Regions from separate parts of the Homo sapiens genome. Here region 2 is linked to region 1. The links are contacts of gene promoters, found by promoter capture Hi-C in human tissues and cell types (Jung and others, 2019). All regions are on one chromosome and are shown on one strand. The core of a region is centred on a gene start or on the middle of the fragment in contact, and the rest is flanking DNA. Distances in the headings are between cores, read along the strand shown. Region 1 holds the start of TSHZ2 (teashirt zinc finger homeobox 2). Region 2 overlaps BCAS1 (brain enriched myelin associated protein 1).

Evidence for each region. The method cuts DNA at HindIII sites, captures the fragments that hold promoters and counts their contacts. A contact is called where the count stands out against the background at its distance.
Region 2: a fragment that was not itself captured here is called in contact with the fragment with the promoter of TSHZ2 in region 1 in 1 of the 25 tissues and cell types used here (lymphoblastoid cells).

Annotation. Positions count from the first base shown.
Region 1 is chr20:52,969,814-52,976,475 of GRCh38, forward strand. TSHZ2 (teashirt zinc finger homeobox 2) reads left to right here and starts at 2,545. Exons shown (of 3, transcript NM_173485.6): 1 at 2,545-3,520. The coding sequence starts at 3,481. The HindIII fragment of the contact is 6,451 bases long and covers 1-4,148 here.
Region 2 is chr20:54,058,850-54,065,511 of GRCh38, forward strand. All of the region lies in intron 1 of BCAS1 (brain enriched myelin associated protein 1), which reads right to left. Among named protein-coding and RNA genes, the nearest start is that of MIR4756, 6.3 kb to the right of the region's middle. The HindIII fragment of the contact is 5,971 bases long and covers 1-4,236 here.

The DNA of each region.
Region 1 (6,662 bases), core at 1,295-3,794:
AGAAAAACTCTTCTGGACATTGGCTTAGGCAAAGAATTTCTGACTAAGCCCTCAAAAGCAAATGCAACAAAAATAAATAAATAAATGGAGCCTAATTAAACTAAAAAAATTCTACCCAGTAAAAGAAACAATCATCAGAGCAAACAGACAACCTACAGAATGGGTGAAAATATTTGCAAACTATGCATCTGACAAAGGACTAATATCCAGAATCTACAAGGAACTCAAACAAATCAGCAAGAAAAAAAAAAAAATAATCTCATTAAAAAGTGGACAAATGACGTGAATAGACATTTCTCAAAAGGAGACAGACAAATGGCCAACAAACATAATGAAAAAATGCTGAACATCAATAATCACAGGGTAAATGCAAATTAAAACTGCAGTGAGATAGCACCTTACCCTAGCCAGAATGGCCATTATTAAAAAGTCAAAAAACAACAGATATTGGTGTGGATGTGGGGAAAAGGGAACTTTTATACCCACTGCTGGTGTGAATGTAAATTAGTACAATCTCTATGGAGAACAGTATGGAGATTTCTCAAGGAATTAAAAGTAGATCTACCATTTGATCCAGCAACCCCACTACTGGGTATCTACCCAAAGGAAAAAAAGTCATTATGTCAAAAAGACACCTGCAGGCGTATATTCATTGCAGCACAATTGCAAAGATATGAAATCAACATAAGTGCCCATCAACTGATTATTGTATAAAGAAAATGTGGTATATATATCTATATATGTGTATTTGTGTATATATATGTGTGTTTGTGTGTATATACACACATATATATACACCGTGGAATACTACTCAGCCATAGTAAAGAACAAAATAATGTCTTTCACAGCAACTTGGATAGAGCTGGAGGCCGTTATTCTAGGTGAAGTAACTCAGGATCAAAAACCAAATACCACACGTTCTTGGTTATAAGTGGGAGCTAATGCATGGGTATGCAAAGGCATATGGAAAGATATCATGGACATTGGCAACTCAGAAGCGAGGAGTATGGGAAGGGGGTGAGGACTGAAAAACTACCTATTGGGTACGATGTACACTACTCGGGTGACGGGTGCACTGAAATCCCAGACTTCACCACTATGCAATTCATCCATGTAACCGAAAACCACTTTTACCCCTAAAGCTATTGAAATAAAAAAAATAATAAAGCAAAAAAAAACACCTCTAGTCCCAGCCTGCATCAAATGCCCTCAGTTGCTTTGCCCTCTCACTGGAAGGAGCACTCCTTGAGGGCATGGTCTAGGTTCACCTTGTTCACAGACTTGCCCCCAACACCTCAAAAGGTGCCTGGCCGATAGCAGAACTCAATAATCACATGTTTGTTTCAATCTCTCTGTGCTCAAATGCCATATCCTACATTGAATCTAGAGCCACCCACCCCCTTTTAGACACTATTACAGCACTCAGCTTAACGTCTTCATGGAGCGAATCACTCAAAGTATCCTGTTTATTTGCTTGCTTACTTTTCATTCATTCAACAAATATTTTACTGGGCACTTATTATATGTCTTGTGCTTTGCCAGCACTTGGGGATATAAGAGAACAAAGAGGCAAAAATCCTTCCTTCCATTGGAGCTTACATTCAAGAGGGGAACTTGTACAATCAACAGAATAGAAAACTGTCTATAACCTGTGTGACACTCACTGATCAGCTCACTGGGGAATAACAAAATGGAGAAATGGGGCAGGGAGTGTGTGTGTGTGTGTGTGTGTGTATTTTAGGTGAGGTAGACCTTTGGGAAAAGGGGACATTTAAGCAAAGATTGGATAGCTGGGGGGCACTTGTCTGCACTCCCCCATTAGAATATAAATACCAACATGGCCACCACCTTCCCTTTCTCTGTGGCCTCTGTGTCTCCAGAATAGGCACATAGTAGATGCTCAATAAACATTCTTCAAAGGAAACAAAAAGAGGAGTATATGATTAGACCTTAAAGTAGACAGAAGGGAGATTTTTGTTTTTGTGACCACCCATTGATTAGCGAGAAAGTGGGAGGGACAGGGGCACTAAATTGAAGGGGTCGTGGGGAGCACATTTTGGTGGGGGCAGGTTAAGACTTACAGGATGGAGATCCTCACTGGATAAGGTCCCCTCCCCCTTCCCAGCCCCGAGCAAACCTAAGTTCTCCCTCTCCTAAGATTGTGCATGGTCCCTGCTGGTCAGCCAACCTGGCCCCCCTGAATCTCCCTCCACAGCCTCCCAGCTTCAGAGTTCAGCCATCATCACACTGCCTCCTTTTCTCCCGCACCCCTTCCCTCCTCACCTCCTTTCCTCCCGCCCCCGCCCCTTCCGCCTCCCGGAGGGGTGTCCCCGCGCCCGGTGGGCACGCCCTCGCCCCGGCGGAGAGGGCGCACAGAGGGGCCTGGGCCGGCGCGCCGGGGCCCCCGCCCCCAGCCCCTCTCCCCTGCGGGACGCTGTCCCTTTAATAGGCTCCCGCTGCCTGGCGCTCTGCGGCTGGGGAGTAAATTTCTCCCTGTCATCAGGTCGCGGGGAGAGGAGGAGGAGGAGGAGTTTGTTAATGTTCAGTTTGTTCAGCGGGATCGATGTTTGCTGGCATCGCCTCGCCCTGTCTTGTGTGTGTGTGCGAGGGTGTGTGTGTGTGTTTGTGTGTGTGTGCATATGTGGGGGGTGTGAGTGTGTGTGTGCGAGGAAGCGGGGGTGCGTGCGCGTGTGAGTGCGTGTGTGAGTGTCTGTGTGTGTGTCTGTGTGTGTGTGTGAGTGAGTGAATTCCAGATTTTCTGTCTTTCCAAAACCCGCTCCTGTCCTCTCGCATATCACTCACAGACGGGGATCTGACAGCAGCCACAAACCTACAGTGAGTGATCGCTCTCCCCCCGGCACGAATCCGCCATAGAGATCGGCGAGGAGGAGGAGGAGGAGGAGGAAGAAAAGAAGGAGGAGGTGGAGGAGGAGGTGGAGGAGGAGGAGGAGGAGGGAAAGAGGAGAAGGAAGAAGAAGAAAAAGAAGAAACCCACTACCTTCCCAGGATTGCCTTTTTTTTTTCCTTATCTTTACGCGCGAGTGTGCCTGTGGCGCGTGTGCGCCCCTCGTCCCTTCCATCCGAACCCGGGCTTGGATGTTTAATAAAGAAATCAAGTGTCTCAACAGTCACCAAAAAAAAAAAAAACCGCAAAAACAAAACCAAAAAAATTCCAAAAGCAAAAACAAAAAAGAGAGAGGAAAAAAAATTCAAAATAAACAAACAAACAAACAAGGCAGAACCAACCTCTACTTCAAAGCAGCCGGCACAAGCCACCCGTGTCTGCCACCCAGAGAGGGGGGTCTCTGGCCCGTGGTGGAGGAGTTGCAGGGGGGATCGTCAGGGGGACAGAGGCCGAGTGACGTCCTAGGAGCCACCGGGCAAGAGGCGGAGGAGACCCAGAGAGGCCAGAGAGACAGCGGGCCCCAGCGCGCGGCTCGGGGCTGGGGCGCCAGAAGTGGGACTGGAGCGAAGTAGAGGATGCCGAGGAGAAAACAGCAGGCACCCAAGCGGGCGGCAGGTAAGAGAAACGGCTCCGCTTCGGGGCTGCCCTGTGCGCCGAGCTCCTCGCCCGCCCTCCTTGCCCCTGGGTGCCCGGGGGCACCACCCACTTAAGCTTTCGGGGGAGTTTGCGCCGGGTGCCCTTCTAATAACCCCGTCCTCTCTCGCCTTCTCTGGTCTCCCAAATCCTCCCCTTCCAAGCTCCGGTTGGGTTGGGGTGAGCTATCCCACCAAGCCTTTCCTCCTTAAACTTTCTTTCCTCCACCCTCTACCCCACCCCTAACTTTCTTCCAGTCTGTTTCTTGCCTCTCGGGCCAAAGTCGGATTGAGGATTTGGGGTGCGGAGTAGGGAGACAGCCCCTCCACCCCTGCATCCCTCTGCGTGGTCAGTGCCAGTGGCTTTTGGCCTCCAGGGATAGCGTCTCCTCTCACTGGGGCTTGGGGCGCTGAAGTGTGAGGCATACCTAACACTCGGGCTGCAGGCAGGCTTTGGGGCCAGCAATAGGAGTTTAGCGTTGATCACCAAGGTGGACAAAATGCCCCCAGGAAATGGATGACTCTTTGCATATATTTTCTAAAAGGATCCATATTTGGAAATGTAATTAACAATTTCCCTATTCTTTAAAAAAACCAAAAAGGGTTGTAGGGGGGAAATTCCCCATAGAAATTTAAACAGCTCTGGATTTTCTTTGCCTAGAGAGTTGCAAACTTTGTGAAATGATTCGTACTGTAAAAACTATCCCATCTGAATCCTTACTGCCCCCTAAAAAAGATAAGAACAGGTTAATGGATCAGTACAATAGACCTTCTAAAGTTTTTTTTTCTTTTGGGTTGCTTAATTGCTTTTTTAATAGTATGCTGGGGTTTTGTTTCTCGGAAATGTAATATGAAAGTTCATTTTTCTTCTGCCAGACCCACCCACTGAAAAATCAGCTTTCCACTTGATTGCTAGTTTTGATTTGACATTTGATTGATCACCTGTCATCTCGCTGCCTTTGATCTATTCATTCTTGATATATATCAATAAATCACTCACCATGGTAACTCAGAGTGCCAGTGACGCAAACCTTGCCCTCTATATTCAGAGCCAGACATGCACAATTATTATCTTGTTTGGCTTTTAATGTGGGCGTTTTTATTTCTTTGTGTCCTTTAGTTGAATCAGGGCTTTCGCAAAAAGCTTAAGTTTAGTTGTTTTTTCCTCTCTCTCTGTCTTTACCCTCTTGATTTAGGCAACATTAGGTAAGACTGGTCTTCTGCAGACCCACCTCCACATTTCATTCTGTTCCAACTCTAGCAAAACATAGGGAGAAGTTTGGTGGAACACTTTCATAAACTTTGCAAAGTCACCCTTAGAACAAATCCAAAGTTAGTTAGGAATCTGAGGAGAGTGGGCATCCCTTGTCTGAATGTGTTGAACCACCAAGCTCATCCTCCTTCCTCGCCTGAGTGTTTCAAAATATCCACAATTATCATTCCTTCTGAGCACAGAATTGCTTCCCTATTTGTAAGTTGGTTCAAGTGGCATGCAGAAATATTGATAAAGCGTGGATTCATATATTTTCTGATCGTTTCCCTAAAAGCAAAATAATTAAAATATTTTTAGTGAGGTACGTATTTGGAACTTGCCTCATCAGTGAGGTTTTCTTTTTTCAACTCTAGTTACTTCTTTGGAAAACAATGTCTCTTTCCTACCGTTGTCTCTTTCTGCATTTAACTCACTGATTTCCTAAAACTTAGGCTGCTTTGCAATCTGACAGCGTGTGGATGTGTTCAATGGCCTTTGAGACCCAGGAACAGTGAGCCTGCTGCATCTAGTTCTGGCAACATAAGTTTAAGTGTAGCTACATTATTAGAGATAACGTCCTTATTGTTGTCCCGAAAGAGAACCCTGGGCTACGGTCCAGCAAGAAGTGATACTGCCCTGAAAATTACTCTTTTTTTTTTTCTGGTTGTTCCGGTAAAGACTATCAACAACTAGGCAGTAATTTAAATTACCAGAATGACTGGACATGTCTCCTTTAGTAAGCTCATTACAAAAAGTGCATTGCTCAGAATTGCTCGACTTTGATTATAATTATCCTACGATCGATAAGGATCCAGGTGTACGTAACATAACACTGTATCACATTATTTAAATCAGGTCCTTTTCATTAAGCTGTGTCTGTTGGTGCTGGCTAGTTTATTGGTGTGTGTGGGTGTGTGGGGGTGTGTGTGTGTGTGTGTTAGAAACTTGTAACTATAGTTTCAGTTTTCTGGCCTATTATATTCCTACTGTCTTTGTATGTTTGTTTTGTATGATTCTTATTATTTTCACCAGAAGCGGAAACCCTTTTTAAGCTGAAAAAGGATGATTCATTTCGTACACAGTGAGGGCCCTCTTACCTTATTTATTTGCTCACATATTAATAGAGGAGACAGTTTTTCATGCAGTGTTTCTTCTGTTCATCTAAGGTCATCAATGCCCTACTCTATTTCAGCTGAAGTGGTTATTCACAAGTAAAGTTAGCCACTTTGGGGTTCTGTAGTCAGTTAACATCCAGGGAAGGGGAGAAGGTGGGTTCTAAGATTATGGCCATACTAACTTTTATCACTGCTTAAAATTAAACACAATGCACAACTGTAAGTAATTACACCCAAGGACTGATGTTGAAAGCTTGATTTCTAGCTTGATTAATGAATAATGGGAGATAGAAAAAGCCTGTGAGTGGATCCGAGCTGAGGCTCTCCCGGAGCGCTCTTTTTCCCAAGAACTGTTCCAGGCAATTTGATTCCTTTGTATTATTAGTTATAAGTTCCATGTTTCAAGGAATCAATTACAGAACTTTCTACTAAAGCAGGTATCTAAACAGAATAAACAAGATGATATTGTAAGTGATGAGGAATTTTAGTCTTTATTTGTTATGTTCCTCCCCCTTCAGGGGGAAGGGATGTGAGGGGACAATTCTCTTTAAGGAAACAGCTAAATCAGAGTATTTCCCTCTGAAATGTCATTCTTCCTGGCTTTCTTAAGCTATGCTATTCCACCATACTATTACTTAGGGCAAGAAAAAAAAAGTTGAGAAAGCAGCCTACAGTACCCCAGGGGTTTGTGTTGTGTGTGCATGCTTGCTTCCTTGGATGTATATTTCACTCACCATTAAAATACATCCACTATTACC
Region 2 (6,662 bases), core at 1-2,500, 1.1 Mb after region 1:
AATTGCTTGTATTAGTCCGTTCTCACACTGCTATGAAGAAATACCCGAGACTGGGTAATTTATAAAGAAAAGAGGTTGAATTGACTCATGGTTCCGCATGGCTGGGGAGACCGCAGGAAACTTACAATCGTGGCAGAAGACACCTCTCCACAGGACACCAGAAGAATGAGTGCGAGCTGGGGAAATGCCAGATGCTTATAAAACCATCAGATCTCGCGAGACTCACTCAGTATCACGAGAACAGCGTGGAGGAACCCGCCCCCATGATCCAATTACCTCCACCTGGTCCCATCCTTGACGTGGGGATTATGAGGATTACAATTCAAGGTAAGATTTTACGTAGAGACACAACCAAACTATATCATTGCTTATATTTATTTTGGGAAATAGAAAGGAGATTTTGGACTCATGTATTCAACAGAATTAAAGTTAAATGCAGTCATAATTTTCAGTTGCATTTCATTGCTAGGGGAAAATATTTATCATCATGAAAAGTGTATTCAGTGTAGATAGCATTTTTTTCTCTTTTAGTTAAAGTCACAGCTATTAGGATTTTAGAATGAGGGTAATTGAAATAATAATATTTTTTTCTGATTCTCAAACTAAATTAATTCCCCTATTAAAACCTTTTACACTACGGCCTTTTTTTTTTCATAGCATTTAGCAGGGCTTGTAATTATATACTTACTTGGGTATATATTCATGCTTTCACTGATTTAGCACATATGGTCATGTGTCACTTAAGGGCGAGAAAATGTTCTGAGAAATGCATCATTAGATGATTTCATGGTTGTATGAACATCATAGATAGTATAGCCTACTACACTCCTAGGCTGTATGGTATAACCTATCGTTCCTAGGCCACTAACTTGCACAGCACGCAACCACATTGAACACTCTGGGAAATTGTGACACACTGGGAAGTATTTGTGTACCTAAACATATCGAAACAGAAAAAGTCCAGTAAATACATAGTATTATAATGTCATGTGACCACTAAGTATATGTGGTCCATCATTGACTAAGGTATCATTATGCAGTGTATGACTGTGTCTATTGAGCACAGCTCTGCACCTGTTGCTGGGCTGGGCACTAGGGTTACAGCTGTAAATTAAACAGGCAAGGCCCTCTGACTTCATGGAGCTGAAGTATGGTGCACAGGGAGAGAGTTAACATAGGAACAATAAATCCACAAACGAGGTTGTTTCTGATAGTTCAAGGCAGCATGGCACAGTGGTTATGACCACAGACTCTAGAGCAAGACTGCCTGGGCATGAATCCTCTCTCTGCCCCTTGTAGCTGTGTGTCCTTGGGAGAGTTAATTAGCCTCTCTGTGCCTCATAAGACTGCTATAAGGACCCAATGAGTTAATGCTTGTGACGTGGTTAGAACAATGTCTAGCTCATGTTAAGCAAAACATATCTGCTTATTAAACAAAAATGCATAGGGTTCTAAGTTATGAATAAAAGTAATTTTTTTTTGAGACGGAGTCTCTCTCTGTTGCCCAGGATGGAGTGCAGTGGTGCAATCTCGGCTCACTGCAACCTCCGCCTTCTGGGTTTAAGCAATTCTCCTGCCTCAGCCTCCTGAGTAGCTGGGATAACAGGTGCGTGGCACAACACCAGACTATTTTTTTTTTTTTTTGTATTTTTAGTAGAGATGGGTTTTCACCATGTTGGCCAGACTGGTCTCGAGTGCCTGGCCTCATGTGATCCACCCGCCTTGGCCTCCCAAAGTGTTGGGATTACAGGCATGAGCCACTGCGCCTGGTCGAATAAAAGTAATTAATAACATTACGTGAGATGGGATCATATGGGAGATGGCAGGTTGTGGCACTGCTGGGTAGGATGGTTCTGAAATGACTGTTAATGTGGTTATTGTCCCATAGGTGAAGGGCAAAGTTGAATATTTAATTTATGTCTCCCTTCCACAAGAAATTGTAAGCACCCTGACGTCAAAGGCAGTGTCTACCTTCACCCAATTTTGTATCTCCTAATCTTAGCAGTGTGTTTGCATTTACTGGGAGCTTAATTATTGTTAGTCAATGGAGGGAATAACGATTGATAGCATCTCTCACATATGAGGCACAGACCTAGGTACATGACCACATCATCACCAAACCTCTGAAGAGCTTCGTTATAATAATGTATGATATATAATAATAATGATGATAATAGCAAATCATTACTTAGCATGTTCTCAATTCCAAGCTCTAATTTTGGAGTGCTTCACCTGTATTGTCTCATGTAGTCCTATAGCACTCCTGTGAGATAGAGGTATCATGATTTCATTCTTCATATGAGGTAGCCGAAACTCGAGGGGGTTAAATCATTTTCCAAAGGTCACCCAGTTAATGAGCAAGATTCAAACACAGTCTGGCTGTGCTCCTAACCACCGGAATGTTCTGCATATTACTAGCTTCCCTTAAAAAGGAGGAATGGAACCTCCAAGACCCACCAAGGGCAAACATCCAGTGAGGAATTGACTCCTAGTATATCTGATCCCTACACAAGGACTCTTGCAGCCACTCCAAAGGCCTGCTGTCTTGCCACCTAAAGTTCTTTTGCACATGTAATTCCAATGTAGCCCATCTCCAAAGACCTAGCTTCTGGCTTATCTGCTCTAGTGGCTCTCGGAATAAAAATTAGGACTTTTGATTTCTGGCTGAAAGGAGTCAATGAGTCACCAGGGATTCTTGTGGATCTCTCGCCATTGGTGTGAGTTTTTATTCCCTGGTAGTAGACGCATTGAGCAATTAGATATTGAGGAGGCCAAAAAAAGGGTCATGGATCTCACCATGTGTTCTCTTGCAGGAATTTAATACATAACCAAATCTGGGGATTTTGTATGTCTTCTGATCATACCACATAATAAAGCTGAGCACTGTTAAAACATGTAGGACACTTGTTGTTTTGTGCTATTTTCTATTTATAAAATCCGTGACTCACACACTTGCATCAGATCATCGCTTCTGTCTGTTAATGGGACATTATGAATAATATAATATTGAATCCTCAAGACCAGGGTTGGCAAAGAACAGCGGTGGCTGGATTCAGCTCACTGCCTGTTTTAGTAGGCCAGTGAGCTAAAAATGAGTTTTAAATTTATAAATGGTTGGAAAAAAATTAGAAGAATCATAGAATGTGACACATGAAAATTATATGAAAGTCAAATTTTGGCATCCATAAATAAAGTTTTGCTGGAAGATAGTCATGCCCTTTTATTTATATATTGTCTATGATGGCTTTCATGCTATAATGGCAGAACTGAGTAGTTGCAACAGACACCTATGGCCTGCAAAGCCTAAGATATTTACTATCTGGCTCTTTACAGAAAGTTTACCAGGATTTGAGCCTACTGTGTATAAAAACAATGACAACAACTCTAAAAAATCATAGAAATGATAGAGTAATAACAATAACAACATTTGGTGAGTGCTTACCATCTGTTGAGAAACTTCTAGGAGCTTTATTTGCAGTAAAACTAATTTGCTCTTTGCAGCAATTCAACAAGACAGAGGTATTATTATTTCAATTTTGCTGGTGTGGAAACTGAGGCACGCAGGTTAAATGTCTCAGTCAAGGATACGCGCAAACACATACGTTCATATATACACATGCAAGAATATATACACACAAAGTATCTCTATCTAAATTCAGCTTTTAACAAGTTTTAAAATTATTTTAACAGTAGGATTACAAGCTTTATTTTAAAGCTCTTACTATTTAATGTAAATTCAATCCTAACAAAGCTACTTTGAATCAACACTTGAGGTTATGAAAAACCTTGGTGCTGGAAGACGCATGGTGTACAGAAGTAGGAGAGAAGATTTTTCTTCCCACAGAGTTGGGGTTACATTATTCTGATCATTGCACACCCTAAGTAGCCTCTCGGCCACTTCAAGGTGAAGGGCCCTGAAAGAAGGAAAATCTAATGGCGTGTCTTTTTCAGTGATAACCTGGATTCAGATATTGTCACTCTCCACCAGCAGATATAATGCATGTGTCGTGAAATTGCTCCTGCCTGTCCATCAACCTTTTAAAGAACAGGATTCATCTGGGTGGGACAAAAGCAAAAGGTTACTGCCATCTATTGGCTGATGTCAATATTAGCAGAAATGAATTCAGCCTACAGGACTAGGTCCAAACAACTGGGAAGGCTGAAAGAAGCATTTTGATGTTTTGCAATGAAGCCTTCTGTTCACAGTTGGCAAGAAGATGGCAACTCCTTCAGTGCCCCAAAGGTCCTGGAACTCGTAATAATGATAACCATATATGACTTGTATGGAGAGCTTGCCGTATGCCAGCCCAGTGCTGAAGCTCTATGTAGACATCAGTGTAGCACATAGGATAGGAATGTGGGCTCTGGAGTTTGGAATCCCTGAGCATCACTGAGCCTCGCTGGGCCTCAGTTTCCTCATCTGTAAAAATGGGGATAATTATAGCCTCCATCTCAAGGGGCTGGTATGGAGTCAAACCAGTGAATATAAGCAAAGTGCCCTGAACAGGGCCTGGCACATAAAGAGGACTGCACAAGAGTTAGCATGAGTAGGACTCTCACGGGTATGATCCTTGCTCTTTGAAGCCAGTTTCTCCCACAGGTGCCCGGTAGTGAGACTCTACCGAGGAATCCAGCAACATTTCTGATTCCTGTGATCCTCTCACCGAAAAGTCAATTTGGGGCCCTGGAATTTGTATTTTTAGCAAATGCCCCAGTGATTCTCATGATCAGACACCTATAGAAAATAGTGTGATGGTGACCATCTTCAAGCTTTTTCCAGGAGTGAGGATGCTCTAGGACACAGGACTCTTATGTTAAAATTGGAAAACCCTGGGCAAACCAGAATGACTTGGGTGGAGACTTTTTTTTAAATCCCCGTTTAATAGATGGGAAAACTGAGGCTCAAGGCAGTTCAGACAGTAATTCTTGTCTGTAATAGTTTTCTCCCATTTCTCAAAAAGGAGAAAAATAAATCAGATAGAGTTTTTCATGATAAACGTACAATTGAAAGAGCTAACTTTCATTTTTGAAAAAGAAAAAGTTTGAATGGGGTGTTAAAATGCCCTTTCTTTCATGAACTGATTATATGAGTGTTTTGTCTTTATGACCTTATTTTACATTAAACATACGAAGCTATGGTGGGTGGAGGGGTGTTGTTTTTGAAATTAGACTTGTGTTTGAGGGTTTGGCACTTTGCCACTGGGGGTTGATTGTGGAGGTTCAGATGAGAAAGCCCCTTCACTTCCCCGCCTCCTGCCTGTGTTATGGGGGCCCATGCCCAGACTGGGCTGCATGTGAGAACCTCCCACAGAGTTCTGAGATCCCCATGCCCAGGCCCCTGCCAAACTGATGACAGCAGATTCTCTGGGGTGGGGCTGGGCATCGGGGTACTTTCAAGATCTCTAGGTGATTTCCATGGCTGAGAGCCCCTGTTTTGGATATTTCTGGGGTGAGTGAGTGAGTGTCTCCTGGGGTCAGAACTCTCCTGGCTGCTGCCTACCCTGACCTAGACAACCAAACCCACGGATTCTCAGACGGAGGAATAGCTCAGGCTTCGGAGTCCACAGACCACCATCACCCAGGCACCTGAATACACTCACAACCCTTCTAGGGGCACTGCTTTGCTGACGCACTGTTTCGTGAGCTTGCAAATCAAGAGAACTGTCCTGGGCCTCCAGCTTCCCTTCCCCCAGAACTGGCGGGCAGGGCAGGCTTTCCAGCTGGTTATTCAGAAGCAAGCCCAGATGCCCCACCGGAGGTGGGTGGAGGCTGCCCTCCGCAGTCTCGCTCTCCTGCATCTCTGGGGTTCCCCTCTCTCCTCTTGAGAACAAGAGATCTGGAGTGAGACAGGCATCCGTAAAATCCCACGATCGTGAGGCTTTGGGCAAAGCACTTGACCCTTCTGAAAGTATCTTTCTTGTGGAAAATGACAGTATTCATAATGGTGGCAATAATAAACACATTTAGAGTGTTTTCTCTGTGCTGAGCAGTTCTGATTTGCATATATTTGCCTCTCTTGGTCCTCCCAACAACTCTCTGAGTTAGGTACTTTTATTTTCCCAGTTGTCTTATGAGAAGCCGGAGCACAGAGAGGTTGAGTGGCATGTCCTGATACATCGTGGTACCGTGCGAAGGGGTAAATGTGATGGGAAAGTGCCTGGCAGGGCGAGCACCTAGTAGCTATTAGTGATATAGATGTCCCAAACTCAACTCATGATGGTTCGACTGACAATATTTCAACTTTATGATGAGTATCTATCTATCATCTATCTATCTATCTATCTATCTATCTATCTATCTATCTATCTATCTATCATCTACTTTATCTATCTATCTCACACACACTATATATATAACATATTTACAATGTTTAGGGTATTTTATTTTGGTACCAATTTTCCAGGACTATATATCTATATTTCATATTTTGGATATCTTGTCCTATTCCTCGATGACTTACATTGCTTTGCTAAACGTTTTCTCCTTGGAAATATGCTGTTCTTTGTTTCTCCCTCACAATAAGTGGAGCACAGCGTTTCTGGAGTCAGGAGCGATTTTGGCCCCGAAGGGGCATTTGGAAATGCCTGCATGCAGTTTTGATAGTCACGGTTCAGCTTTGGGGGGCGTGCACTGGTATCCGGTGGGTAGAGGCTGGGGACGCT